Regions from separate parts of the Homo sapiens genome. Here all the other regions are linked to region 1. Evidence: promoter capture Hi-C in human tissues and cell types (Jung and others, 2019). All regions are on one chromosome and are shown on one strand. The core of a region is centred on a gene start or on the middle of the fragment in contact, and the rest is flanking DNA. Distances in the headings are between cores, read along the strand shown. Region 1 holds the start of ZNF599 (zinc finger protein 599). Region 2 overlaps LINC00904 (long intergenic non-protein coding RNA 904). Region 3 overlaps ZNF302 (zinc finger protein 302). Region 4 overlaps LINC02965 (long intergenic non-protein coding RNA 2965).

Evidence for each region. Contacts are between HindIII fragments. The study calls those that stand out against the background at their distance.
Region 2: a fragment that was not itself captured here is called in contact with the fragment with the promoter of ZNF599 in region 1 in 2 of the 25 tissues and cell types used here (dorsolateral prefrontal cortex and thymus).
Region 3: a contact is called between a fragment that was not itself captured here and the fragment with the promoter of ZNF599 in region 1, in 3 of the 25 tissues and cell types used here (bladder, dorsolateral prefrontal cortex and mesenchymal stem cells).
Region 4: a fragment that was not itself captured here is called in contact with the fragment with the promoter of ZNF599 in region 1 in 2 of the 25 tissues and cell types used here (H1 embryonic stem cells and spleen).

The regions. Positions count from the first base shown.
Region 1 is chr19:34,771,841-34,774,652 of GRCh38, reverse strand. ZNF599 (zinc finger protein 599) reads left to right here and starts at 1,438. Exons shown (of 4, transcript NM_001007248.3): 1 at 1,438-1,829. The coding sequence starts at 1,812. It overlaps LOC124904696 (a long non-coding RNA gene), which reads right to left and starts at 1,306. Exons shown (of 2, transcript XR_007067234.1): 1 at 959-1,306; 2 at 1-386. RefSeq lists an enhancer at 1,508-1,617 and a silencer at 1,728-1,787. The HindIII fragment of the contact is 7,437 bases long and covers 1-2,812 here.
Region 2 is chr19:34,889,968-34,892,779 of GRCh38, reverse strand. LINC00904 (long intergenic non-protein coding RNA 904) reads left to right here. Exons shown (of 6, transcript NR_187844.1): 6 at 484-948. Among named protein-coding and RNA genes, the nearest start is that of LINC00904, 14 kb to the left of the region's middle. The HindIII fragment of the contact is 4,130 bases long and covers 1-2,812 here.
Region 3 is chr19:34,683,937-34,686,748 of GRCh38, reverse strand. It overlaps ZNF302 (zinc finger protein 302), which reads right to left. Exons shown (of 5, transcript NM_001289187.2): 5 at 353-2,497. The coding sequence ends at 1,512. Among named protein-coding and RNA genes, the nearest start is that of ZNF302, 7.7 kb to the right of the region's middle. The HindIII fragment of the contact is 3,944 bases long and covers 1-2,812 here.
Region 4 is chr19:34,842,221-34,845,032 of GRCh38, reverse strand. The region is part of intron 3 of LINC02965 (long intergenic non-protein coding RNA 2965); the gene reads right to left. Among named protein-coding and RNA genes, the nearest start is that of LINC02965, 4.9 kb to the right of the region's middle. The HindIII fragment of the contact is 8,258 bases long and covers 1-2,812 here.

The sequences.
Region 1 (2,812 bases), core at 189-2,688:
GACTTATCAGTCCCATTATCTCTTTCTGGATGCTCTGGAGGACAGCACATCCTGGCTTCTCTTACATGTGGAGCTATTTGAGTGGTTTGTAGGCCATGGAATATAGGCAGAAGTGATTGCAAAATTGTGTCTTCATTATGTTTTCTTATTTCTGCTCCATCCTGGGGATGCCTCTTTGGATGTAATGCTTTTACTTTTCACAGTGTCCAGGATTATTGCCCTCTTCATGTGGGCTACAGGTTTGGGTGGTGGGCTGAAAGTGTCTTGATGAGACAAGATCTGGTGACCCTGAGTTGCTGGGCATAAGCTGGGCCATCTGGTTTGTGCCTGGTTCTGGCTTCCCTGGGGGCTGGAGGGGCAGATGGGGAGGGGTCAGATCCTGGTTGCTGTGAATTAGAGATGAACAGTGACACGCCATCTTACATCACAAACTAGAAACCATGTCAACTCCACTCTTCCCTTAGGGCTGCAGGTAATTAGTCTCAGTGATCCTAAGTTTTGAATCATGTAAGAAAGTATCCCTTGGGCAATAGGTCTACCTGTATATTAGGAAACCCTCCTGCATATACCGTTTTAAAAAGATGCATACGCCAAATGCTGCAACGTATTATTATGTAAAATTTAAACAGTATTCATGAGGCTCCTGTTGAATCAGTCAACGTATTTGTTTTGACAAATATCAGAGTCTGCAAAGAAGTATCTCAGACCCTCCCCTAGCAGTGTATTGTGATGATGTTGCCAATAATACAGAATATTAATAATGACAGCAATAGCTCTTATGTTCTTATCGGTATGTTCCAGGCCCAGTGCTAAGCAATTCTTAGTTACTTCCCACCAAACAGGTGGCTTTGTCTCATTTATTTACTGGAATTTAAAGAGTCTGGTTCTCAAATGTTTTGCAGCATCCACTTTTCCTGGACAAGTTAAGCAGAGGGCTGGGTCCCACCCCCCAGAGTACCTGATTCAGTGGGTGGGGACTAAGAACTTGCATTGGTAACAAATTCGCAGGTAATGCTGATGTCATCTGAAAATTACTGATAGGGGAAATTTTAATATTATCATATTAAATAATTATCTTCATTTTCCTTAGGAATCTCCATCTCAAGGCTCAGAGAGATGAACTGCTGGCGCAGGGATACACAGGGAGGAAAGTCAAGGCGTGAGTTGCCTGGTAGAGACATTTGAGAGTGGGTCATTGCCTCAGATAATTTCCACGGAACTCTGTGTGCCTCTCCTTTAAGAAGAGGTGAAGCCAATCCCTTTCTTGGGAGCCTTGAGAAGCCGCCTCACCGAGAACAGAAAGTGCGCTCCAGGTACCACCCGGATTCCGTCAAACTACATTACCCAGAAGGCAGTGCTACAAGGGACGGAAGCCGACCCCAAGCCATAGACGGAAGGCGCAGAGGGGCGTTCCCGTAGCGGCGTGGGCGGGACTTCCGGCGTCCAGTCTTCGTCCGCCGTTAGGTTGCGGCTGCTGTGGTTGCCAACGCTACACTGGGTAGAACGCCAGACAGGGGCCACTTTTCGAGACCGAGTAGAGACGGACAGTGAGGAGGATAGGACCCACTTACACGCTTTTATGTCAGCCGCGATCCCACCCCCACAAGCGTCTGCAAAACCCTTCCTGGGGCCTTGGCGACAGCCCTGTGTCCTCACGGCGCGCAGAGGCGGCGCCGCGAACCTTGTGTGCATTTTACACGACGGCGGGGACTGAGGTCCCTCGCAGCCCAGAGCCGGAGCCCGGGGTCGGCCGAGCCCGCAGGACCGGCTTCCTCGCCGACTCTCACGGCCTCACCCAGCCCCCTGGGCCCATGGCGGCGCCGGCGTTGGTGAGTGGAGGGTTCCGCAGCCCGCGCGAGCTCGGGTCACCGCCCGCATGCACCCATCCGCTGTAATACGGCGGATGCCGGGACTCTGTGCTTCTCCCTTTTGATGCCCTAGGTTATGGAGATCCCGGGAGAGGGTGAGGTGAGAGGGCAGGGCTAATCACTTCCTACCCAGGGTCCTGAATCCAGGACAGGAGTTGTAAGGAGAGGTCCCTGTCTCTGGCTCTAACCTGGAGCTGTCGCCTCGCTGCCCTCGGCCTCCATTCCCTCGGGTCTAAAATGCGAGTCTCAGTAATTTTCTCTGTGGAGGGAGCTGGAGAGGGTACGCTTGTGACGTGGGTCCTGTCTTTCACTGCTCGGAGAGCATCACTCTAGGTGCCGTCTTTGAAGAAGGACTCTCTAGGTCCTGCTGTTGTTTTAGGGGATCATTCCAGCGGAAGTCTGGCCCTACCAAAAGCTGGGAGAGGGAATGAGAGCCTCGAGGGCAAGAGGTGAGGCGGGAGCAGCATTTTTGGCAGGAGGCTAGAAGACAAGAAGCTCATTGGATTTATCTTTGCAGATGCCGTCTGTTTATTACAAATGAATCTGGCTTGCCGCCTAACAGCAGTGAATCCGTGCTTCTGTTTAACACATGCTCTTGTATTTGAAAAGCAAATCCAGCACAATATTCATTAATGACAGTGTACATGAATGTATGTCTCTTGGAGTGTGAGCACATAAGGCCCCAAGTTACTCTCCAGCATGTCACACTGTTTACTCCTCGTAGCTCTGATCACCTTCAGGAGTTGTCTATTCATTTTTCCTCACCTGGTCTGTTCTCTAACTTCAATCTAACCTTGTTCCAGGGTCTCTTCAGAGAGAGCTTCCCTGGTTGCATCATGTAAAGTCTCTCCCAGTCTTTGTGGTCTTCTCACTCTTGTGTTGTTTTCTAGAGTCTTCTGACTTTATCTTGATTGTTTATTGCTGAGGATCTGTCCCCCAACCCC
Region 2 (2,812 bases), core at 109-2,608, 120 kb before region 1:
GAGCCATAGAACTTTGAAAAGTTACATCTGCCTCAACACAGCACCACTTATAGAAAGAAGTCAATTCTTCTTCCACCGTTGACTAAAATAGAAAAGACATGTAAGCAGAGAGGATCAATGAACAAAAGGAAGGCATTCTCTCTCTCTCTCTCTATATATATATATATACACACACGTGATGTATATATGTATATATATACACATACATATACATTATATGTGTGTGTATATATATATACACATATAACATATATGTGTGTGTATATATATATGTGTGTGTGTGTTTATCAGTCTAGGAAAGAAAGAAAAGGGCCCACTGAGGCAAATGGGCTGGACCAAAGGAGGCAGCTACAGGCAGCAAGGGGTCCTGCCAGCGTAAGATGGCAGGAAAACTGGCCCATAGCTTGGTTCTACCAGACTGAGAAGTTGAAACTGGGTATGGTGTGGTGGATATACTTACTGATCTTTTTCTTCTTTCCACAGTAGACTGCCTCAAGGCCAGTGTGTTGACTTCTGACCAGTCTCATCTGAACCCACACCCTTTAACATATATACAAAACACCTGAAGGGTTGGGCTGCCAGCTTTCTTTAGGATGATAGAGGGCAGGTTAAGTTTGTTTGACATAACTAGAAGAGGTGGAGCCTCTTCCTAATGGAGCAAGGTCCATTTATGGCAAACTGTGGTCCCCCACCACTATCAGCTACTTCTGGATAGCTTTTGCTTAAAGTTGATGAGATATTGTTTCTTTCACTAGAAGAAAATGAATGAGTTGGTGATCCCAAACTTTGGCCTCCAAAGGAAGCCTGGGCAGGTGACAAATGTGTCCTAAGCGAGACTGCTGCTTCCATGCTCATGCTGGAGGTACATTTGCCCTGAAAGATGGAGCAAAAGTGCTGAAGCTTAGCACAGAGGATTAATGAATAAGAACAAGGCTATGTTATATCATATTTGTATAGCAATCTGGAAAAGAAAGAACGGGGCTTGTTAAGGCAAATGGGCAAGACAAAACGGGATATCTATAGGCAGCAAGGGGTCCTGCCAGTCTAAGACTAATGGAAAACTGGCCCATAGCCAGGTATTTTCTCAATGGTGTTCACTACACCAAGTCAGAGGGCTACTTTGTCTAGATAGAGCCCAGGTATTGTGAGTGAGTGCAGGAATAGAAGTGTCTTCCTAAAGGTGTATGTATGGTGTTCTCCTGGGAGACTGTAACAGATGTGCCCTGGGCAAGACCACGCCAGCAGCTGTCAATGATGCTGAGCATACAAATACCCTGGAGCCCAGGAATGGGGCTGCCTCCGCCCAGTGTATCACCTGTGCTCCAGACTGTGTACCCCAGGTCCTCTGCCAGTAGCATCTCCAATCACAGGTGAAATGCCAGCCCTTCAAACAGCACAGGTGGGCCCTAGGTGTCTGATGGAAGGAATGAACAGATATATCACGTGGCATGCATTTCTTCTCAGTGGTGCAGGTATCTCCAGCAGGTTTGCTCTGGCCAGGTGGGCCCCAGTACTTAGACCATATGCAGGAAGAGAAGACTCTCTAAAAATAGGTATGATGTTGGCCCCTTCCATTGCAACACACGTGCCCTGGACAGGTGGGATTCAGGTGTTCTGGCTATAGGTAGGAACATAAAGGCATCCGAGCATAGATGCAGTGCTGGTCCCTTAGACTGCAACAGGTGTACTTTAGTTAGGTGTGCCCCAGGTGGCTTGACTGGGGCAGGAAGAGAAGGATCTCAGCACAGGTATGGTGCTGGTCCCTTCCACTGGAACACAAGTGCTCTGGCCAAACAGGTCCCAGGTGATCTGAACAAAAGGGGGAACAGCCATGTCTTCTGAAACACTCCTTCTCAGTGATCACAAATCTTCCAGTAGTAGTAGGCGTGTTTTGGCTGGGCTGGCACCAGGTGCTCTAACTACAGGTGGGAAGGAAAGTGTTTCCCAGGGCAGATTTGATTTGCTCTCAGCAGTGCCGGCTTCTCCAATTGCAGCAGGAGTGCATCAGGGCTGACAGGACCCTGGCGCTCAGGTCTAAGCCTCCCCCATCATGAGCTGTGGTACTGGCTGTCCCCCAGCCATTTTGCTCCAAAGCTAAGCGATCTAGATGTGGTGGTAGACTCTGCGTGGTAGACCCAATGACCCCAAAGCTTTTGCTATCCATAAGGGCTTCAGATCCCACAAATACAAATTGGCTTGGATTGGCATCAGCAAGAAATGAGCAACAGTCCTCAGTGTTGTGCTTTCTGGTAGCATTTCATGGCAAGAGTAAGAGTGTCCACACCAATGGGTAAAACACCCGAGGCACCACCATGGGCTGCCTGAATGCTGACATTGATGCCAAAGTGGACACGGGAGTGTTTAGTTCCCAAAAGCCAACTGAGTTGTGCTGCCATTGGGTTCTAGGGCTGCAGTAGAGGTTAAGTGTGAAGGGTTTTCAGGGGCTGGCAGGTTTCTCAAAGGGAAACAGCTGTTAACATTGCAGGGAGAGACAGGATGATAACAGATGGGGACATGGGCATGGTACCCATGTTGATTTCCTTAGAGGCAAAGTCAGGCGGAGACACCAAGTCTGAAGACGGGTTGTATACTGGAGTGGAGGTGACTGCAGAATCAGTGGTAGGTGGGCCAGAAAAGACAGGGCACTGGGGGGAGTGGTTCTCTGGCAAGGCCCTGAATCAGGACCCCCAGATTTCAGCTGGTAAGTGTTTCCTGAATCAAAAGCAAGCTTAGAAGTTCAAGTAGGGCTGCTGACCATAAAAGCAGGTGGGCTGGTGGGGATGATGGCCTTTGCAGGGGATATCCGCTCCAC
Region 3 (2,812 bases), core at 102-2,601, 88 kb after region 1:
TGAAAAATGCAAATTCAAATCAACTCATACAGAAACTCTAGGACTGAGGCTTAGCAATCTGTGCTTTAACACGTCCTTCCAGTGATTTCGACACAGCACTAGAGCTCAGAACTACTAGATTCCTTTATCCCATCCCTGTGTAATACACATGAGTAATGCTCAGTAAATGTTCTTGAAATGTATTTAATTAAGCCTACTGGATATGGACTCAATAATCCTCACCAAAATACTGCTATTCTTAGTATAAAGAGCAGGCCATTCTTCTCGAAGTTTGCTAGTCTCCCGCTAAAGGCTATACTAAGGCTAATCTTAGTGAAATTTTTTTTTGTCGCAAACAGTCACAGAGAAAGAGTTCATGATATACAAAATGATTTTATTAGATGCCAAATTTTTATTAACACCATTTTATTTCTTTTGCAGCTTTAATTTTTAACATTATAACATTTACTGGCTCCTCTGGGTGACTAAATATCTTCACATGCCCACTAGCTAAAAAGAATTTCTAAGTAGAACTCAACTGAAACTGCAAGCTACTGCTCTAAGAAATGCATACTTATGTTTATTTGCTCTCCTATATAATCCTGTTTACAAATAGCATAACTGCAAAGATTTATATGTAATTTCTAAATCCTTCAGGTTGCTCTACCATTCATCTTCTTATGTCTGGCAAGATAAACACTCTTAGTGAACACTTTGCTGCATCTCTTAAATGAGATTTGTCTCCAGTTTATTTCCTATAGAATAAGGGATGCACTTGGAACTGAAAAATTCCTTCAATTTCTAAAGTTTCCACATTCATACAACTTTTCTCCTGTAGGAGTTTGCAGGAGATTCCTATTGCCTATAGTCTTTCCCACATTTGCTACATGTACACAGATTTTTCCTAGTGTGAGTATACTTAGGTCAATTAAGGGATTAATACTGACAAAGGCTTTCCCACATTTATTGACTTCATATGATTTCTCTACAGTATAAACTCTAATAAAAAAATCTGCATCATTGCTAAAAGTCTCCCATGTTCACCACCTTCATACAACTTTTCCCCAGTATACATTTTTCTGATGTTAAATAAGGGAGGATCTATGAATGAAGTTTACCGTGATAAACACTGCTTCTCTTCTGTAAGATTTCTCACATGTATAGGGATTCATATGATCTAAAGGCTTTTCCACACTTACCACACTATTGGGTTTCTCTCCATTATGTACTCTTTGATGGGCAGTAAGATTCGAGCCTTTGCTAAAAGCTTTCCCACACTCACTACATTTATATGGCTTTTCTCCAGTATGAATTCTCTGATGTACAGTAAGGTTTGAACTACAGCTGAAGGTCTTCCCACATTTAATACATTCGTAAGGTTTCTCTCCAGTATGAATACTGTGATGTTGAAGCAGGGACGACCTATGACTAAAGGCTTTCCCACATATACTGCATTCGTAGGGTTTCAATCTAATGTGATTTCTCAAATGCATATTCAGTGATTCAAGCTGGTTGAAGGATTTCCTGCATTTCTAAACTTCAAACGGTTTTTCTTCAGTATGAATACTCTGATGTTGAACAAGAAATGAGAAGCTACTAAAGACCTTGAGACATTTGTTGCATTCATATTTTTTCTTCATACTGTGAATTCTTTGATGTTGAGTAAGGTGTGAGCTACAGCAGAAAGCTTTCCCACATTCTCTACATTCATAAGGCTTCTCTCCAGTATGGCTTTTCTGATGGTGAATGAGAGACGAACTATGAATGAAGGCCTTTCCACATATACGACACTCATAGCGTTTTTCTTGCGTATGAATTCTTAGATGCTGAATGAGAAGGGACACACGACTAAAAGACTTTCCACAGTTCATACATTCATACGGTTTCTCTCCCGTGTGAGTGCTCTGATGGTTAGTAAGTGATGAGCCATGGCTAAAGGCCTTCCCACATTCAATGCATTTGTAAGGTTTCTCTCCACTATGGCTTATCTGATGTCGTGTAAGGGATGAACCATGGCTAAAAGTCTTCCCACATTCACGACATTCATAGGGCTTCTCTCCTGTATGAATTCTCCAGTGGCGACTGAGGATTGACTGTTTGCCAAAGGCTTTCCCACATTCACTGCATGTATAGATTTTCTCTCTATTACAAGTCTGGGGAAGGGTAAGAGATTTGCTCTGGTTGAAGGCTGCCCCACTTTTATTAGAATTTAAAAGTTTCTTTCCACCATTTATTCTCTCACTTTTTATAACTGACTTTTTTGATAAATTCTTCTTTAATATATCATATTTGTGTGAATTCCCTTCAGCAGAATTGTTTTGTGGTTCAGAAAGAGTAGACTTTGAATGAAAGGTGCTTCTAAATGTGTCGCATTCTGTATATTCCAAATTCTTATTAGAATTTGAAAATTCATAACTTTGTTTTACAACTTTTTCCATTGTTACTGGTTGGGGTGAATCTTCATCATAAATATCCTTCTTTGTTGATAATTCCTTGTTTTCCCATCTTGATTCCCAATCTGAAATATATCAAGAAAGCAAAGCACTGCCTTTTTTTTTTTTTTTTTTTTTTTTTTTTTTTTTTTTTTTTTTTTTTTTTACTTCTTGAAAAAAGCTTCTACAGTGGAATTAGGAGAATTGGATAAGAAATGAAGCACCCAGAAAACACATAGTTCTGACAACTCAAATATTTCAGTGACTTCTGAACAATGCTCAAATAGAGCAGAGAATCCAAAGTTCACAGAAGCAGGAACAGAGTGTGATAAAGGAAATGGGTAAGCTGTACGAAATGGATAAAATAGTATGGAAAAAAGGAAAGTATCAGAAATAAGATG
Region 4 (2,812 bases), core at 313-2,812, 70 kb before region 1:
ATTTATAAAGAAAAGAGGTTTCTTTGGCTCACAGTCCTGCAGGCTGTATAAGAAGGATGATGCCAGGATCTGCTTCTGGTGAGGGCCTTAGGCTGGCAAAGAGGAGCTGGCATGTGCAAAGATCACTAGGCAAGAGAAGAAGCGAGAGAGGAGGGGAGGAAGGTGCCAGGCTGTTTTTAACAATCAGCTCTTGCAGGGCTTAATAGAGTGAGAACTCACTCATCACTGTGAGGAAAGCTCCAAGACATCATGGGGGCTCCAACCCCATGACCCAAACACTTACCATCAGGCTCCACCTCTAACGCTGGGGATCACATTGCAACATGAGATTTGGAGGGGTCAAACAAACCAAACTATAGCATGGGGGAGTCAGATGTGGGGGGTCGGGGCAGCCCCTCCCATAAGTGATCTCACAGGGCGAAGATCTGAGCTGTTGTCTCCCTGTGCTGACCAATCTGCTCTGGAGAAAGGGGATCTGACTGATCTGACGGGGTCAGGGTCCCAGTGTTCCACACATAGGTCCCAGGAGTTGGAGTTTCATTGCACATGAACTTCTCATCAGGGTATGTTGCAACAGATGCTCGGACAAGGTCCGCATGTCAGCAAGCCTTCTCTGCATCTAAGCTTACTTGCTGCTTTGTCTTTCTTCCTGCCTTACCCCCTGCCCAGCACCCCCACTGCTTGCCTTCCTATTATCCACCATACCCCTTCCTTAGCATTAATCTTTTCTAAATGAATTGTCTAAAATATATTACAAACTACCATAGCAGTTATGAACAAAAGTTTTGGAGATGGAGAGTGGCAATAATTGTACATCAATATAAATGTACTTATTGCCAGTGAATTGTGCATTTAAAAATTGTTAAAATGGTAAATTTTATGTTGTTTATACACAATATAAAACCATTACGCTACGTAAGTGAGCCCAGCCACAAAGAACCACATAGTCTATCTCTGCCCTAATTATCGTCAATTTCATATCGTCAACTGCAATAGCAGTTGCCTATAAAACAATCAACGACGTTAGCATGACGTTGTGACTGCCTTTGCATCAAATGTTTTTTTTCGGATAAACCTTTTGGAGGTAAAATTTACATGAAAAATGCACCTGTTTTATGTTCGCTAAGTTTTAACAAATGTGTACACTCAAGGCCCCACCACAATTCAGGTACAGATCATTTCCATCATCCTAAAAAATCCCCTTATGCTCCTTTGTTGTTAGTTCCTCCGCATATCTAACCACAAACAACCATTTATCCGCTTTCTGACATTTCATATTAATCTTGCTATTTCTAAAATTTGTTATACACAGAATCAGAGTATGCAGTTTTGGGTGTGGGTATTTGATAAGCATAATGGTTTTGAGATGTGTCTGTGTTGTTGAATAAATGTCAGGTTCATTCTACTCTATTTCCCAGTAGTACCCCATGTTCATAGTGGAATCATCCACAATAGCCAAAAGCTGGAAGCAACCCAGGTATCCAGCAATGTAGGAATGGGGAAACAAAACATACAATGGCATATTATTCAGCCTCAAAAGGAAGGAAATTCTAATACATGCTACAATATGGATAAAACCTGAAAAAAAACTATGCCAGGTAAAACAACCTGGACATAGAAGGACAAAGGTGTCATTCTACTTATATGATATACCTGGAATAGGCAAATTCATAGAGACAGAATAGTGGTTACCAGAGCTGTGGGGAATGTGTGCTGGGGAGTTATTGTTTAATAGGTACAGAGTTTCAATTTAGGATGATGAAAAAGTTCTGGAGATGAATAGTGGCGATGGTTATACAACAATATAAATGTACTAAATGCCAGTGAATTGTACATTTAGAAATTGTTAAAATGGTAAATTTTGTGTTATGTATATGCCATATAAAACTATTATAATACATGAATGAATCCAGCCAGAAAGAACCACATAGTCTATGGTTTCATACAGGAAATGTCCAGAGTAGGTAAACTCAAAGAGAGAAAGTCGATTAATGCTTGCCTAGAACTGGGAGGTGTGGGGGTATTAGAAGGTGATGGCTAAGGTGTACAAAGATTCTTTTTGGGGTGATGAATACTTTACAAAATTGTGTTGATGGTTGCACATTTCTGTGAATAGACTAATAGCCATTGAATTCTATACTTCAAATACATGGATTGTATTTTACATGAATTGTCTCTCAAAAAAGCTATTAGAAAAGAATCAGCCGATACAATTCATCTCAATAGTTGTGAACAAACTAATCGAAAAAAGCTAATATTCCTTTCAAAAAAAATCTTTCAGTAAAGTAGGAAGTGGACGGAATTTCCTTATTTCTTTTATGTGATAATGCATGCATTGAACGAAAAAAAACTTCAGTTAACAGCATACTGAATATTTTCCCCCCAAGATCAGGAAGTAGAAAATGAAGTCCATTGACTTCTCTTGGATTCAATGTTGTATTGGAGGTTGCAGCAAATGTGGAGGATAAGAAAAATTAAAATCATACAGATTTAAAAGGAAAGGGTAAACTACTCAATGCACAGAAATCCTGATTGTGTATGCAGAAAATCCTATAATCCATCTATAAAAAATTATAAAAAGTAAGGTATGAATTTTGCAAGGTGCTAGTATACAAGATCAATATATATAAAACAATTATTTTTCTGTAAACTGCCGTATACTAATACACGTACAAATGTGTGTGTGTGTGTGTGTGTGTGTGTGTGTGTGTGTGTGTGTATCAGCTGGTGGAGTGAAGAATTAATATTGGTAAGTTGTCCGTTTCAGCCAGAATCCAGAAAGCTGGTCTAGGGCAGCAGTCCCCAACCTTTT